Linked DNA regions of Homo sapiens: all the other regions are linked to region 2. Evidence: promoter capture Hi-C in 16 types of primary human blood cells and fetal thymus (Javierre and others, 2016). All regions are on one chromosome and are shown on one strand. The core of a region is centred on a gene start or on the middle of the fragment in contact, and the rest is flanking DNA. Distances in the headings are between cores, read along the strand shown. Region 1 holds the start of NCKAP5L (NCK associated protein 5 like). Region 2 holds the start of DHH (desert hedgehog signaling molecule). Region 3 holds the start of FMNL3 (formin like 3).

Region 1 (4,920 bases), core at 10-2,509, 730 kb before region 2:
CCAAAATGACTTCTTTATCTTATGTCTTGTCACATCCATATCCTTATTCTGCTCTCCTCCATAAGAAACCTCCTCCATTAATTTCTCCCACTTCCCAACGTACCACGGTGATCTGCTCACGGTCCCACGCAGATAATTTGCTCTTTCCTATCTGAATCTCCTTGTGGCCTTTACCCTGCCTGGACCCTACTCAAGCTCTCTCTGCCCTTCAAATTCCGTATTTAAATAAACCTCCTTCAGAAAAGAACTCTTAATCCTAGCCAATCTGAGCACCCTAACTTGCCTTACTTTTTATGTTCCTTTATTGGACTAATATGATACTCTAAGCTGCATCCTTTGTATACTCGCAACAAAAGAAATTTTAATGAAGTAGGCGGAGACTGTACCTAGGGATTCCTTCGTATTTCCCTGCAGAACCCAGGTGAGAACCTACATTTCTGGGGCAGTCACTACAATGCAGGCTGTGAGGGTTATACGGTATTTAGGCAAGGGCAAATAGGTGTTTAATTAAGGACTAATGGGAATGATATTGAAGCTCTGAGGCTCTGCAGGGGCCTGGATGGGCTGTTTGCTTTTCCTCATCCTCACCGAGATAGCAAGTGGTTGAGAACAAGGTTGCATCCTTTTTCTGCCCAGCCTTCCCCGCAAACCAGTGAGGAAACGACCAGCACTGCCGTCTGATGAGAGGAGCCTGTTGCTGTAACTGTTTTCCAGATTACTGGGGGGACGACCCCATCCTGGAGAAGGAAGAGAGAGGCGGGAGCATTTAAGGCCAAAGAGGCACTCAAGCCTTTCCCCCATGGATTTACACCCAACACGTATGCAGAAAAGCAAATTACAAACACCGACGCTCACAACCACACATACACGTGCACGCCCAGCCCCACAGAAGCAAACGCGCATGCCTGTGGGCCCGCGCGCACCTACTTAGTTTTCTCTGTTCTAGACGCCCTCATTCCACCCCCGCTCGGCCCAGCCCGGCGTCCTCTACCCAGGCACGGCTGAGGTTTACCAAGCCCGGCCCGGCCTGGAGAAAGTGTTTCTATAAGGGGGAAGGGAGGTCCTTCCCACCAAAGCGGAAGCGGCGCGCGCCGGCCGGGCAGACTTAGCTCGCGTCCTGGGAACATCTGGAGGGGGCTGGGAGGGGCGCGCATCCAGGCTGAACGTGGATTGGCTGCTAGGGAGGAGGGAGGCGGGGTCAGGGCCAGGGGCGGGGCTCCCCGGCCCCTTTAAAGCCTTGACATCAGGAGGCGGCTCCGGCACCCCCCTTTCTCTGCCCCCCGCCCCCAAGCCGCGGCCATGGACCTGGCGGATCCGGCCTGCCCTGGCCCAGCTCAACACCTGATTTCGGTGAGTTCTGGGTCTACTTGGGATTGAAAGGGCGGCGAGTGCGGGGGGGCGATCTGTAGCTCCGGGCCGGGGGGAGTGGGGTGTGGAGGGTAAGGCTCTCGTGGCAGTACAGAGTCGGAGAGGGCGTCGCGGCTTCCTGCCCAAACCCTGCTGCCCGCCCCTCCGTCCCTCCCTCCAGCCGCACCCTCCTCGGGGGTCCGGCTGCGACTCTGTGCACCCCCACCCCACCCCCTCCCGCCCCCCGCGCCATCCTCGCGCACACTCCGTGGCCCCGGAAGGGAAACTTTCGGGAGTGGGGGATGTTCCGGGGGCCGGGCTCCCCTCCCTCTTTGAAAGCACTGACCTTGCCCCAGCTGCTCACCCCACCCAACCCGCATCCCACCGTCCGGGTGCCGCTTAGCGGTGCCGGGTTATTGCGGGGGGAGGGGCTCTCTCCCCAAAGCGCAGGCGCGGAGACGAGCCTGGGGCTCCCTTTCGCACTCCTTCCCATTCCCCGTGGCCTGGGGCGGTAGGGCCTGGGGAAGGCGGGGAGAGGCGGAAAGACCGGGTCTCCTAGAGAACAGCCCCTTCAAAGGCTTTGAGGGGCTGCGGGAAGGAGGAAGGACCTGGTGGGCTGCACGCTGAAGAGAAGCTAAGGGAGGGAGAAGGGTTGGTTGGGCAGGGAGCAGGGACAGGGCAGCGTCTGCAGAAAAGGCCCTCTGGGTGCTGGCTGCGGTGCCAGAAGAATGCAGAGAATTCATCTGTGCCCGACGCTTCCCTGGCTTAGCCCAACTAAGAAAGCGGCTGCCCGGATCCTAGCTCCCCTCTCCCTGTCCTGGGCCCAAGGTCCCGCGTTATCTCCAGTCCTGGCACGGCCCCAAGGGCACAGAGGGCCCTCACCTCCCACAGGCCTGGTTTTCCAGGCATCCCAGGGCTGGATCAGCTGAGTCCACTTAGTCTGTCCAGCTGCTACTTCTTAAAGGCCTGCCTTGCTGAGGAGCTGGGGGTCTTGGGCTAAGGAGTTCTCTGGCTGTAGAGGCAATCCCTCCCTCCCACTTCTCCGCGTCTGTCATGGGTCCTCCTTCTTAAGCACAATGGTCAGCCAGAGGAAGTGGCCCGGGCAGGGGTGGCCTGGGGAGCAGTAGAAAGAGTGTCAATGCCTTACCGTTTTGTGGTCAGTACTTTCGGGGAAAATGAACATAGCCCATTTGCCTTGTTGCAGACCCTCCCTTGCAGACATTACGCCATCTGGCTCTCTGAGACTCCTTGTGTGATAGGAAAATTCACTTCTCAAATTGGTCCCCCCATCTTCCTAAAAACAACCTGGGATTAGTGGGTTTCCTATCCCAAAGAAACCGTGTGTATTCCTTTCCGGGGAGATATTCCCATGTTCAAGCTTGTTTTCAAAGTCTATGGTCTGTGCATGAGGTGGCTTTGTCCCTCCAGCATCTTTCTCCAGCTCTGGCCCTCACGAAGAGAGTGAGGACCTGGAGGGGCAGGTGCTGTGGTTGGCAGGGAAGAAGGATCTTCATGATAGGCCGGTGAAGACCTAAGTGTTTGGGGAGCAAGCGGGTATCAATAAAGACAGAGTCAGAAGCTCTGGTCCCTACTTTTCCTAGCTTGCTGTATGACCTTGGCCAAGACAGTTTGCTCTCTGGGGCTCAGTTTCCCCATCTTTAAATGTCAGTAGTTGGACTAGATAGCTCTAATATTCCCTTCCACTTTTTGACATTGAATGGTTCCACTGATGGGTGAATCTATAGGGGAGAAAGGTCCTCTGGCAGAATGGTTCCATTTAGAGGGAGCTAAAGTGTTGGGTGTGCTTTAAATTGCAATTAGTTAGGATTAGAACCCTGGGTAGAGAGAACAGATTCCCTTATTCTAAGCCTGAGAGTAGACCTTGTCCCACACACCCCTGGTGCCTTGGGATATGAACTCCTGCTCCTGCTGGCTTGGGTTTGGCCCACCCATCACGCCTGTGGTGAGACATCCTGGCCCTTTGAAGAGGAGCTGAGAGAGGAGGAGGCAGCCAAGGGCCAGCAGGGTAAGCAGATTCCCAGGAGACAGTTTACGTCTCAGCTGTTGGGACTTGTTTTAGGATCTGGGCCAGGGAGCACAACATACTCACCCACCCGCCCTCTTATAGGAGGAGGGCAAGGAGGGCCCCACTGCTTTTGCCCATCCCACCCCCAGCCCTGCCCACCTCACTGCTGTACTCACACCCCCAGGTCCCAGGCAAGGGGCTAAGGATTCTTCCCCACCGCCCTCATCCAGCCCAGCCAGCCTCCCAGGCCCTGCTATACCAGCCAGTGGCAGCAGTGAGGAGAAGCTGCCCCCACCCCACCTTTCCCAGCCCCTTCCCTCCCCAGGGTAGGACTTCTCAGGAGTTGGGCTCTCCAGGTTGGGACTTGCTTTCCAGCCCAAGAGCCAGAGGTCTTGAAGTTCTTCTTGTTTGTTTTCATCCTCGGTCTCCCAGGTGAAGGGGAATGTTGAAGGAGAGGTGGTGGTTAAGGAAGCCCTGGGTTTGCTCATGTAGGGGCACATTCTCCCTGGGTTACTTTTCCCTCTGCTGGCTCTCCTGGGCCTGGGAAGCCCTCTGCCCTGGGCCCTGCTGCCTATGAAGGTGAAGCTGCAGCAGGAGGTGTTTAGGTTAAATCCCAAGGAAGCCTTCCTTACCGCTGTGAGCCGTTGGAATGGATAATGGAAGCTCCCAGGGAGGTCAGTTTCCCAGAAAGTGGCTAATGCTGGAGTCACTGTCAGACTGAAGGATGCAGCTGTTACTAGGCAGAAGCTGCTGTTCCCTCTTGGGGTGTGGCTCTGAGGCTGGCCAGCCAGAGGCCCCGTTAGAAGGAGGAAGAGAAAGGGCCCTTGCCTGACAGCCGAAGTGGGGTCCCTGACCCCATCATGCCTGAGTCACCAGAGCTGCATCTCTCAAAACAAGTGCCCTTTCTAGCCCCTGCTTCTCAGCCCCCTCCCCCAGTTCACCACCGCTCTCACTGTCTCCTTCGACAACCCTCACCCGAACCTGGCAGGTTCCCCGAGCCCCAGTCTGGCTGCATTAATGGACTGATTGGATTTTCTATACTTGGAGTTTGGGATTTCTGATTGAACATGCAAATTTATGTAAATCAATCTGGGATCTGCCACTACATCAAAACAACACAGAGCATAGGCTGGAAGGAATCCTAGAGACAGTCTAGTCCAACGCCCTCATGTTAAAAATGGGGAAACTGAAGTCCAGAGGGGGAAGTGATTCATGCGGTGGTGAGTGTCAGAGGCAGGACTCCTGATTCTGCTGTGTAGTTTTACATGGTCCCATTCTGCGTTAATGTTTTATGCATGAGGTAGCCTGGCTGGATTTAAGGCAGAGAGGGCCAGTTCTTGAACCTGAGATAGCAGAAAGCTGGGCCCTTGGAGAGTCAGAGTGTTATCGCAGGACCCTCCAGGGGCTCTGGTCAGCTTTGTAACATACCGAGGAAAAGCAGCTTCAAATCCCTGAGAACAAGACCCATAATATTTTCCCCCAGACACTGACCTGGAGGGTTGGAGGCTAAGGTCATTGGTTGCTGCCTGTCTTGGCCCTTGTGGTTT
Region 2 (4,384 bases), core at 1,528-4,027:
GAATCTGAGAGGGTGGGTGGCAGAGGGGAGCAGAGCCATCTGCACTATTGCATAATCTGAGCCAGAGTTTGGGACCAGGACCTCCTGCTTTTCCATACTTAACTGTGGCCTCAGCATGGGGTAGGGCTGGGTGACTGGGTCTAGCCCCTGATCCCAAATCTGTTTACACATCAATCTGCCTCACTGCTGTTCTGGGCCATCCCCATAGCCATGTTTACATGATTTGATGTGCAATAGGGTGGGGTAGGGGCAGGGAAAGGACTGGGCCAGGGCAGGCTCGGGAGATAGATTGTCTCCCTTGCCTCTGGCCCAGCAGAGCCTAAGCACTGTGCTATCCTGGAGGGGCTTTGGACCACCTGAAAGACCAAGGGGATAGGGAGGAGGAGGCTTCAGCCATCAGCAATAAAGTTGATCCCAGGGTTTGCTTTGTTTTTTTAAAGCACCTGTCTCTGTGTATATTTGAACAGCCTTGCTCCCACCAGCCCGGCGTCTGCCCAGTAAGAGAAGCAGAGGGGTCCTGCCCACCATCCTTTTCCTTCCCCTTCATCTATATTATTACCATCCTTTGGGGACTTGGATCTGGTGTTAGGCCATGCAGTTGGGCAGTGGGAAACTCCTCCATCCTCAGTCTTGCTTAAAGCTGGCTTGTCCCCTGACTCCTCCTTATATTCATGGCCTTGTTTCTGTACCTTGAGTATTGGGGGTAGGACATGGGCATAGGAGTAGGCTAACCTCCCCGATACACTCATACCTTCAGCCCTATCCTCCCTGGCTTAACTATTGGATATAGAGTAAAATAAGTGGCTGGCTGACAAGGATTTTCATTTCCTACCTGAGAGAAGAATCTAGCTTTTTACTAGAGGCCATCAGTTTCTTGAAAAGCCCATGTGCTATGTTGGGAGTAAGAGCGCAAAACTTAGGCTTATACAGATTGTGTATTGCACAGCTTCCAGGGACACCATTCACCTCATAGTCATTGTGTGGATAGTTACTATGATAGTTTTCTAATAAATGTCAGTCATCTTGAGGAAGGGGTGCTTTTTTTTTCTTTTTTCTTCTTCTTTTTTTTTTTTTTTTTTTTGTGAGACAAGGTCTGGCTCTATCACCCTGGCTGGAGTGCAGTGGTGCAATCTCAGCTCACTGCAACCTCCGCATTCTGGGCTCAAGCCATTCTTCCAGCTCAGGCTCCAGAATAGCTAGGACAACAGACACATGCTACCATGCCTGGCTAATTTTTGTATTTTTAGTAGAGATGGGGTTTTGCCATGTTGCCTGGGCTGGTCTTGAACTCCTGAGCTCAAGTGATCCACCTACCTTGGACTCCCCAAATGATGGAATTACAGGGGTTAGCCACAACACCCAGCCATCTTTTTTTTGGGGGGGGGGGTCCTCACTCTGTCACCCAGGTTAGAGTGCAGTGGCATGATCTTAGCTCACTCTACAGCCTTGAACTCTTGCACCCAAGTGATCCTCCTTCCTCAGCCTCCTGAGTACCTAAGACTACAGGCATGTACCACTACCTCCCACTAATTAATTTTTTTTTTTTGAAACGGGGTGTCACTATGTTGACCAAGTTGGTCTTCAACTCATGGCCTCAAGCAGTCCTTGCCTCGCCCCCAAAGTGTTGGGATTACAGGAGTGAGCCACTGTGCCTGGCCTGGTTTTTTCTGATGTACACAAAGTTGCTATGAGTACTAGCCATAGAGTGTGGTGAGGGGAGGGTGAATATGAAACACAAAGTGTAGATTCCACAAATGCTTGCAAAGCACCCTTCTGTAGAGTAGGCACTTAACCTTGGAGATACATGATAAATATGTGTGTGCTTAAGATTGCTTTGTCTAGTAAGGTGCCAGATAATTCTAATACTGTTCTAACACTGCAGTTAAGTAATGGTTCTCGAGGGAACACAGGTGGGCAGTGTTGGGACATCAAGGAAGGCTTCTTAGAAGAAATGACTTCTAAACAAAAGAAATTGGACGTGGTGCCTCTGAGATGAGATCTGAGTGGCTGAAAATGGAGCCCCGGGAGTCCAGAGAGGGAGAAAGCTGGAGAGGTGCCTAGATGGACGGTTAAGGGAAGTGATCCTCACCTCTTACAAAGACTTTTGAGTGTCCACTGCCCTTCAGCAGCTTCCAACTGAGAAGTCATTCATTTGAAAAACAGCAGCTATTAGATGCCTGGCAAAGAAGAGAAGGGGAAAAAAGTTGGAAGTCCTAAATGAGACAATAAGTACCAAGCTCTGTTCCTGGTTCTGGGGAAGTTCCAAAGGAGACTGCAAAGTTAGTAGAGAAATGGGCCCCTGGTATCCTCACCTCCCAGTCCTGCTTAATGCTGAATGTGAGGAGAGATGGAAGTCGGGGAGATCTGGGGAGGACTACAGAGAAGGGAGGCTCTGGTTGTATGCCCAAAGGGCTTGGCTGGTCTTGGGCAGAAATTGGAACCCATACTTCCTGGATGACAGCGGAGGGCATGGCCTGCCAGGGTAGGCTTTGAGAGAGTAAAAATTCCAATTCAAGTATCAGAGGAGGGTGGTTTGGTTCCAAGTTTAAGCTTGGAGGTAGAAGGATGTTTAGGCAGCCAAGGACTGTAAAGCTACAAGTATTTCCTAGGCAGGTGTCTGCCTGGTTTCCAGGATGGGACACACTTCAGTCGCAAAATGGACCAGCAGTGACCGGCTAGATCCCCCGCCCGGGTGGGAGGGGGTGGGACGGTCTTGGGAGAAGGGCGGAGGGCGGGGCCAGGGGCCACTTAAGGCGGAGTCCGGAGTCCGGGCGTTCTGGCAGCACCAGAGTCCTGCAGCAGAGACGGGCTGGGCTGGCACTCACCCACGACCCCCCTTCCCTGCTATGATGGTTTGTCAGTAGCAGGTCCTAGACACCCCCCGCCCGCTCCCGGGGCACGTGGGCAGAGCTAGCAGCAGCCAGGTGCACGGAGCCACAAGAGCTCTAGGGCACTCTGGGGGCAGCTGTGCCTGCTGCCCTCTCTGGTGCCTGTGGAGATGCCTAACTGACAGGAGAGTTAGTGAGGACAAGAACGCTCCCTTTTGGCCGAGGTCCGCTGTATCCATGGCTCTCCTGACCAATCTACTGCCCCTGTGCTGCTTGGCACTTCTGGCGCTGCCAGCCCAGAGCTGCGGGCCGGGCCGGGGGCCGGTTGGCCGGCGCCGCTATGCGCGCAAGCAGCTCGTGCCGCTACTCTACAAGCAATTTGTGCCCGGCGTGCCAGAGCGGACCCTGGGCGCCAGTGGGCCAGCGGAGGGGAGGGTGGCAAGGGGCTCCGAGCGCTTCCGGGACCTCGTGCCCAACTACAACCCCGACATCATCTTCAAGGATGAGGAGAACAGTGGAGCCGACCGCCTGATGACCGAGGTAAGGAGGGCCTCTCCCTACCTGCGCCGGGGCACTGCCAGCTCCTCCGTTTTCCTATGGCAGCCCAGGTGGGTGAGTCCAGCTTCACCTACAGAGAGTTTAGCCTTAGAGATTTCCCTTGTCACCAGCCCCAGGGGGGGGAAAAATCCTTGCAGTCTGGACAGAGTAATTAGGACGGCTCCCGACTAGAATAGTCTGGGATGGGGAGGGGAGGAGGGACTGACTAGTGAGAGTGAAGCTGGTAGAGGCAGCGAGGGCGGGGAAAGGAGGATGGCGGCAGGCGAGACGGGAAATGGCTGAGGCGTGGACCGGGGGTCAGCCACCCAGCCAGGCAGGAAGGGCTGGGGTGAGCTGGGGGCCAGGAGCTGGCTAGGTAGCAGACAGAAGCCTGGCTCCTGACCTGATTGTAGAAAAGCTCTGTGGGCCGAAAAGAAGAGACTGAAAAGGGCTGGGACAGGGGTGGCCAAGGGTCAGGTCACCAGACCATCTACCTGAGGAGGGGCTGGGCAGACATTGCTTTTGGCATGGGAAACGTGTCCTAGAACCAGGACACATCTATTCTAGGGTCTATTCTAGGGCTATCCTAGGGTCTAAACGATAATCTTGGGGTTAAAAAGTAATCCTCAGTGAGAATAACAGATGGACCCACCTGAGAATCAGAGGGCTCCTAAGTCTTCCAAGCTCTGCCTATCTCAGGGGCTTTCCTTGGAATTACATAATTAGGATAAATTCAACTACCATTTTTGAGCATTGGAACCACCTAGAGTGAGGTGGAAGAGAAGGACCACCTCTGGCGAGTGATTTATTTTTTATTTTTTGTAGAGACGGGGTCTTGCCATGTTGCCTAGGCTAGTCTTGAACTCCTGAGCTCAAGGGATCCTCCCACCTCGGCCTCCCAAAGTGCTGGATTACAGGTGTGAGCCACTTCATCCAGCCTGGCCAGTGATCTTGAATGTTAGAACTGAAAGAAAACTTGAGAGATGACATTCCTCCAACCCTCCCCACCCCCACTGCCA
Region 3 (4,778 bases), core at 1,465-3,964, 610 kb before region 2:
CCCCCATTTCAATTAGTGAAAACTCCACCATCTTTGTTGCTCAAGTCAAATACTTTGCAGTTATCTTTCATTCACCCTCCACATTCAAACTATCAGGAAATTCCATCAGCTTTACTTTCAAGTCTTTAATAAGGAATCTGACCATTTCTTTCCACCGGTACAGTTACCACCCTGGTTCAAACCATCTCTCACCCAAATGATTGCACTAGCCTGCTAACTAGTCTCCCTGTCCATACTTCTATTGGTTTGTTTTCAATGCAAGAGCCAGAGTGATCCCTGTTACAAAACATGTTAGATCATACCACTCCTCTACTCAAAATCCTCCAATGGCTACCTATCCTACTTAGAGAAAACCGAAGTCCTCACACAATAGCCTACAATATCCTACACAATATATGGCTTCTGGTTACCTTTCTGACTTCATCTTTCACTACCCTTTTCCTTGCTCATTGCACTCCAGCTACACTGGCATCTTTGCTGTTCTTCTAATACATCAGAGATAGTATGCACTTGCCATTCCCTTTGTCTGGATAATTCTTCCCTAGATAGCCACATAGCTTATTTCCTTGCATCCTTCAGATCTTTATCCAAATGCTATCTTATTAGTGAGTCCTTCCTTGATCATCCTATTTAAAATATTTATTATGAGGGAGGGGAAGAAGGAGCCAATGCAATGACTAGTCTTTATTGGAGAGAAGATACTTTACAGCACATTTTGAGCAATTAGTGCCAGGGCTCACTGGGCCAACTTGTGGGACATCAGCTTGTAATGGGTTCATAGTTAGAGCATCACTGGGTCTCGCCTTTGTGCAGCCAGAACCAGTTGACAGCACTGTTGTCCTCTTCACCGATGCAGCTCACTATTATCTTGGTGATGGAGGGAGCTGTTAGGGTCTTCCCTGGTGCCTGAAGCTGCCTTTGGGGGTAATATATTGTATGGGTCCAATCTCATACATGGCTGTCATGAACTCCCTCTCCAGCCCAGTCATCTGCTTGTCATCAGTAGGAACGCCACCTCCAGATGCCATGAAGCACACTGCAACCACCCCATTGGGACTGTAAGCCCTCAGGCCTATGCGGCTAGCGCTCCAGCTCTGAAAATTAACCTTGAAGCCATCATGCCTGTGACAAGCAACAGCTGTGTTTATTTATTTATTGAGACAGAGCCTCACCCTGTCACCCAGGCTAGAGTGGAGTGCCATGAACATGGCTCACTACAGCCTCAACCTCCTAGTTTCAATTGATCCTCCTGCCTCAGCCTCCCAAGTAAGCAACTCTATTTAAAATCTTAATGCCTCTTCCATCTCTATCACCTTTCAGTTTTATTTTTATTAACACTGATCACTAACATCTATACATTTTACTCGTCTAGTTTATTGTCTACCTTTCCTTCTACACAGATTGTGAATTCCAAGAGGACACAATGTATATCCTGTTTGTTCGCAGATGTACCTTCAATGCCCAGAATAGTATCTGGCATAGAATAAACTTTCTAAAATAAATATTTGTTGAATAAATGAATTAAAAATCTAGGTGATAACTTCAGGCATGGTTAGATCCAGGTTCTTGGCATGTCATTAGAATTTTGTCCTGTCTCATAGCTTTTCTCTCCTCTGCGCTGGCTTCATTCTCAAGCAGGCTTGATGTGTTACAGGTGATGATAAGACGGCCACCAGCGGCTGCAGGTTTACATTCTAATAATTTTGCAGCCTAAATGGAGAGAGAGTGAGTGCCTCTTTCCTGATTGTTTCAGAGAAAGCCTTGGATATATCATATTGTCTGGGCTTGGGTCAAGTGACAATCCCTAAAACAGTGTCCATGGGTAGAGGAGGAAAATGTTGTGACTGACTGGGCCTGGGTCATGCGGTCCTTTGGAACTGGGGATAAAATTCAGCTCCATTTAGACTGAGAAGAGGGGAGAGGTGGTTTCCTAAAAGAAAAGGGGGTGCTCTCACTGGAAGAAGATGGCGGCTAGACAACAAATTTCCACCGCAAATGTCAACGACCCAGCCGCCGACTGAGCCCAGAACAGCGTTCTTCTCCCGCCTCTCCATTTTCACACGCAGCCAGATGGTTAAGCTTCTCTCCTCCCAAACGTTTTTTCCCCTGCCTCTGTCGGGTAAGGGCTTCCTCATCCCTCAATGCCTGGTCCAACTATGATCTCCCTCACCCCGACTCTTAACAGGTACTATCTCTCTCCCTCTTCTGAGTATCCTGCTTGTTTCTACTTCTCTTGTAGTTAGTTTTGTACGCCATGCCTTGTATAATATTTTACTTACTTGTATACATCATGAGTTCCTTTTGAAAAAGGGTACGGTCCATTCCCGGTGTGTCCACGCCAGCCCCTCACGCCCTCTGGGAACCGCGGTGATTCGATGCCGGCTGAGGCCGCCAGGGAGCGCTCGGCGCCCGGCACGAGGCCGTCAAGGGCGGGAGGCGCTGTGATTGGCAGACGCGGCCGTCAATCGGGCGCAGGTGGGGCGGGCCGGGCCGCCTGTGAGGCCTCTGGGCGGGAGGCGGGGCCTGCATGAATGGGGCGCGCGTCGCGCGGGCTGCAGTCGGCGCTCGCGGGGGAAGCCCGAGTCTCGGCCGGGTGTGGGTGGGAGGAAGCGAGGTTGGCGGGGGAAGGGAAAGAGCGCGGGGGGCGGGGAGGGGCAGCGCCCGGGCGGCGCGCCGAGCGCGGCGAGGCGGCGGGTGTGAGCAAGAGCCGGCCGCCTCCGTCCGCCTTGCTTCGGTGCGGCTGTCCGCTACGCTGCCTCCGCCCTCGCCGCGCGCCCCCGCCAGCGGGACTCCAGGGAACCCCCGGCGCCCTCGACGGGGCCGAGGAGTCGGGACTCGGGGAGCCGGCGCTGAGGGAGGAGCCTGGTCGGAGCCGCGGAGCCGAAAGCTCCGGAGCGTGGAGGTGGGGGGCCGAGGCCCCTGAGGGGGCCCCGCCGCGATGGGCAACCTGGAGAGCGCCGAGGGGGTCCCGGGAGAGCCCCCCTCTGTCCCGTTGTTGCTGCCGCCCGGCAAGATGCCGATGCCTGAGCCCTGTGAGCTGGAGGAAAGGTTCGCCCTGGTGCTGGTGAGAGCTGAGCCCAGCCCCTTCCCCCGCGTACCGCCCCTCAGGTCCCGACGCCCGGGCTGGGACTTTGTGCTGGGCCCCCGTCCCGCCCACCCTTTCAGTCGGGGTCCCGAACGGATCCCGGCCTCCAGTGTCTTCCCAGGAACCTCTGAGCAGCCGCTGGCCGGCCCGGACAGCCCCGTCGGGGATCTCGGGACCGACGCCTCCACCGCTGGACCCTTAGGAGAAGTCCCCAGTTCGGGACCGTCCTAGGAACCAGGCTTCTCCCTCCTTCTTCCTCCCCCTTCTGCTGCCCTTTTCCCGTTTCCCCGCTTCTTCGCCAGGCTCCCCGTCCCTAGCATTCTCAGCCCGGAGCCTCTCGCGGGTGGGGGGAATTCAGAAGCGCGGCCGGCTCGCTCCTCAGCAGGCTTCCCTGAGTGGGGACACCGCCTCTCCTGCGAACATGGAGGCTTCCCAGGGAGTGGGTCCCACTCCCAGCCCAGACCAGATGTTTGGGGGGAGAGGGGGATGGGGAGGCGGCTGGCAGCTCCTGAAGGGGGTGGAATAAAGAGTATGCCATTCTGCTTATTTTCAGAACGGCCTGCAGGCATCCTGCTAAGTTAGAGTGGATTTGCCTGAAAGGCTGAACATGTGGATAAACCATTTCACTGGGGTATTTCTCCAAGTGAAACAATACACAAACCATCCCGCCTCCTCCCCCCCTTTTCACGTTAAGCCATAGTGACTGGTTTGTGTTGTTTAGCCTGTGCTTTTTAGTCTTTCTGTGGGTTTCAAACGGTCTGTATAAATGGGTTTTTAGAGCTGACTTTGGGATTCTTCTTTGGTGTGGGAATTGGACATTGATGTCAGTGGCTCTATGAAGCGAGAGGTTCTGAGCTGGTATCACCGGGAAGGAGCCAGAAAATATGTTTGCGCTGAAAATGAAGTTTTGCAGAGCGAAAACATTGGTAAACCGGGGTTAATCTTTGAGAAATTTGGGGAAATAGTTCTCACTTCCCCAAAGAGTTTTCTAAGAAGCAGTAATAATTCTGGCGTTATTGTTGGTATGGCCGACTCTGCCTTTGCCTCTGCCCATCAGGAGGGATAAGTTGTGGACTTAGCAGCCTTATTGGATTTCATCTGCCTTGGAATAAGGAGATTAGATCTGTTGGCAACAGTGGAGCTGTCTAGAGATCTTGGCCTCTCCGATGGTAGAGAATCTGACATCAGCCCACTGGCACCAGAGCTGGCTCAAAGAGGGTCCACAGTGTTCCAAGGGGAAGTGGTGTCGCTGGCACCTCTCTGCCCGCCAGCTCTGCGAAGGGCCAAAGGGATGTGGGCCATACATCCTGTGGCCCTCTGCATTTCCCCCAGCCTCCTCGGGGGATCGGGTGAGTCAGTGATTACCAATGTGCTGTGACCATCTCACAGGCTGAGGAGGAGAGACTGGGACTTAGTGGCCTTGAGAACAAGAGCCCAACTGTTGGGGAAAAGAGTGGGAGGGGATCTGCACTCTGGTGGGGGTGTGAAAATCCCCAGCAAGCTGACACAAGTTAGCTATAGAAACTGGGGAGAAAGGGATGGGGTGAGGTGGATTGGGTGGGAGGCTGCCTTAGGTGGGAGCTGCCAGGCCATTTTTTGTGAGAGCTCAGAACCAGAATCCATCATGTTCTCATTGGCCCTTGGTTGACCATTTCGTTTAGTTAGCAAACTAATGGCTTAATATTCACAAAAT

What was found. Contacts are between HindIII fragments. The CHiCAGO score rates a contact against its expected background, and 5 or more counts as called.
Region 1: the fragment with the promoter of NCKAP5L here is called in contact with the fragment with the promoter of DHH in region 2 in 4 of 17 cell types (neutrophils, total B cells, monocytes and 1 more); the score reaches 6.6 in neutrophils.
Region 3: the fragment with the promoter of FMNL3 here is called in contact with the fragment with the promoter of DHH in region 2 in 8 of 17 cell types (total CD4 T cells, non-activated CD4 T cells, naive CD8 T cells and 5 more); the score reaches 7.6 in total CD4 T cells.

The regions. Positions count from the first base shown.
Region 1 is chr12:49,824,752-49,829,671 of GRCh38, reverse strand. NCKAP5L (NCK associated protein 5 like) reads left to right here and starts at 1,259. Exons shown (of 13, transcript NM_001037806.4): 1 at 1,259-1,350. It overlaps BCDIN3D-AS1 (BCDIN3D antisense RNA 1), which reads right to left and starts at 1,129. Exons shown (of 3, transcript NR_027501.1): 1 at 928-1,129; 2 at 589-737. RefSeq lists enhancers at 228-806, 807-1,385, 1,801-1,850, 2,994-3,860, 3,861-4,727 and a silencer at 1,131-1,540. The HindIII fragment of the contact is 6,034 bases long and covers 1-2,727 here.
Region 2 is chr12:49,093,194-49,097,577 of GRCh38, reverse strand. DHH (desert hedgehog signaling molecule) reads left to right here and starts at 2,777. Exons shown (of 3, transcript NM_021044.4): 1 at 2,777-3,368. The coding sequence starts at 3,066. It overlaps DHH-AS1 (DHH antisense RNA 1), which reads right to left. Exons shown (of 4, transcript XR_007063295.1): 3 at 3,390-3,456; 4 at 1,834-2,177. LMBR1L (limb development membrane protein 1 like) reads left to right here. Exons shown (of 17, transcript NM_018113.4): 17 at 1-439. The HindIII fragment of the contact is 10,631 bases long and covers 2,553-4,384 here.
Region 3 is chr12:49,705,341-49,710,118 of GRCh38, reverse strand. It overlaps FMNL3 (formin like 3), which reads left to right and starts at 2,714. Exons shown (of 26, transcript NM_175736.5): 1 at 2,714-3,064. The coding sequence starts at 2,939. LOC124902929 (a long non-coding RNA gene) reads right to left here and starts at 2,393. Exons shown (of 3, transcript XR_007063299.1): 1 at 2,280-2,393. It also overlaps the pseudogene COX5BP5. RefSeq lists an enhancer at 2,131-2,280 and a silencer at 2,301-3,070. The HindIII fragment of the contact is 3,771 bases long and covers 2,082-4,778 here.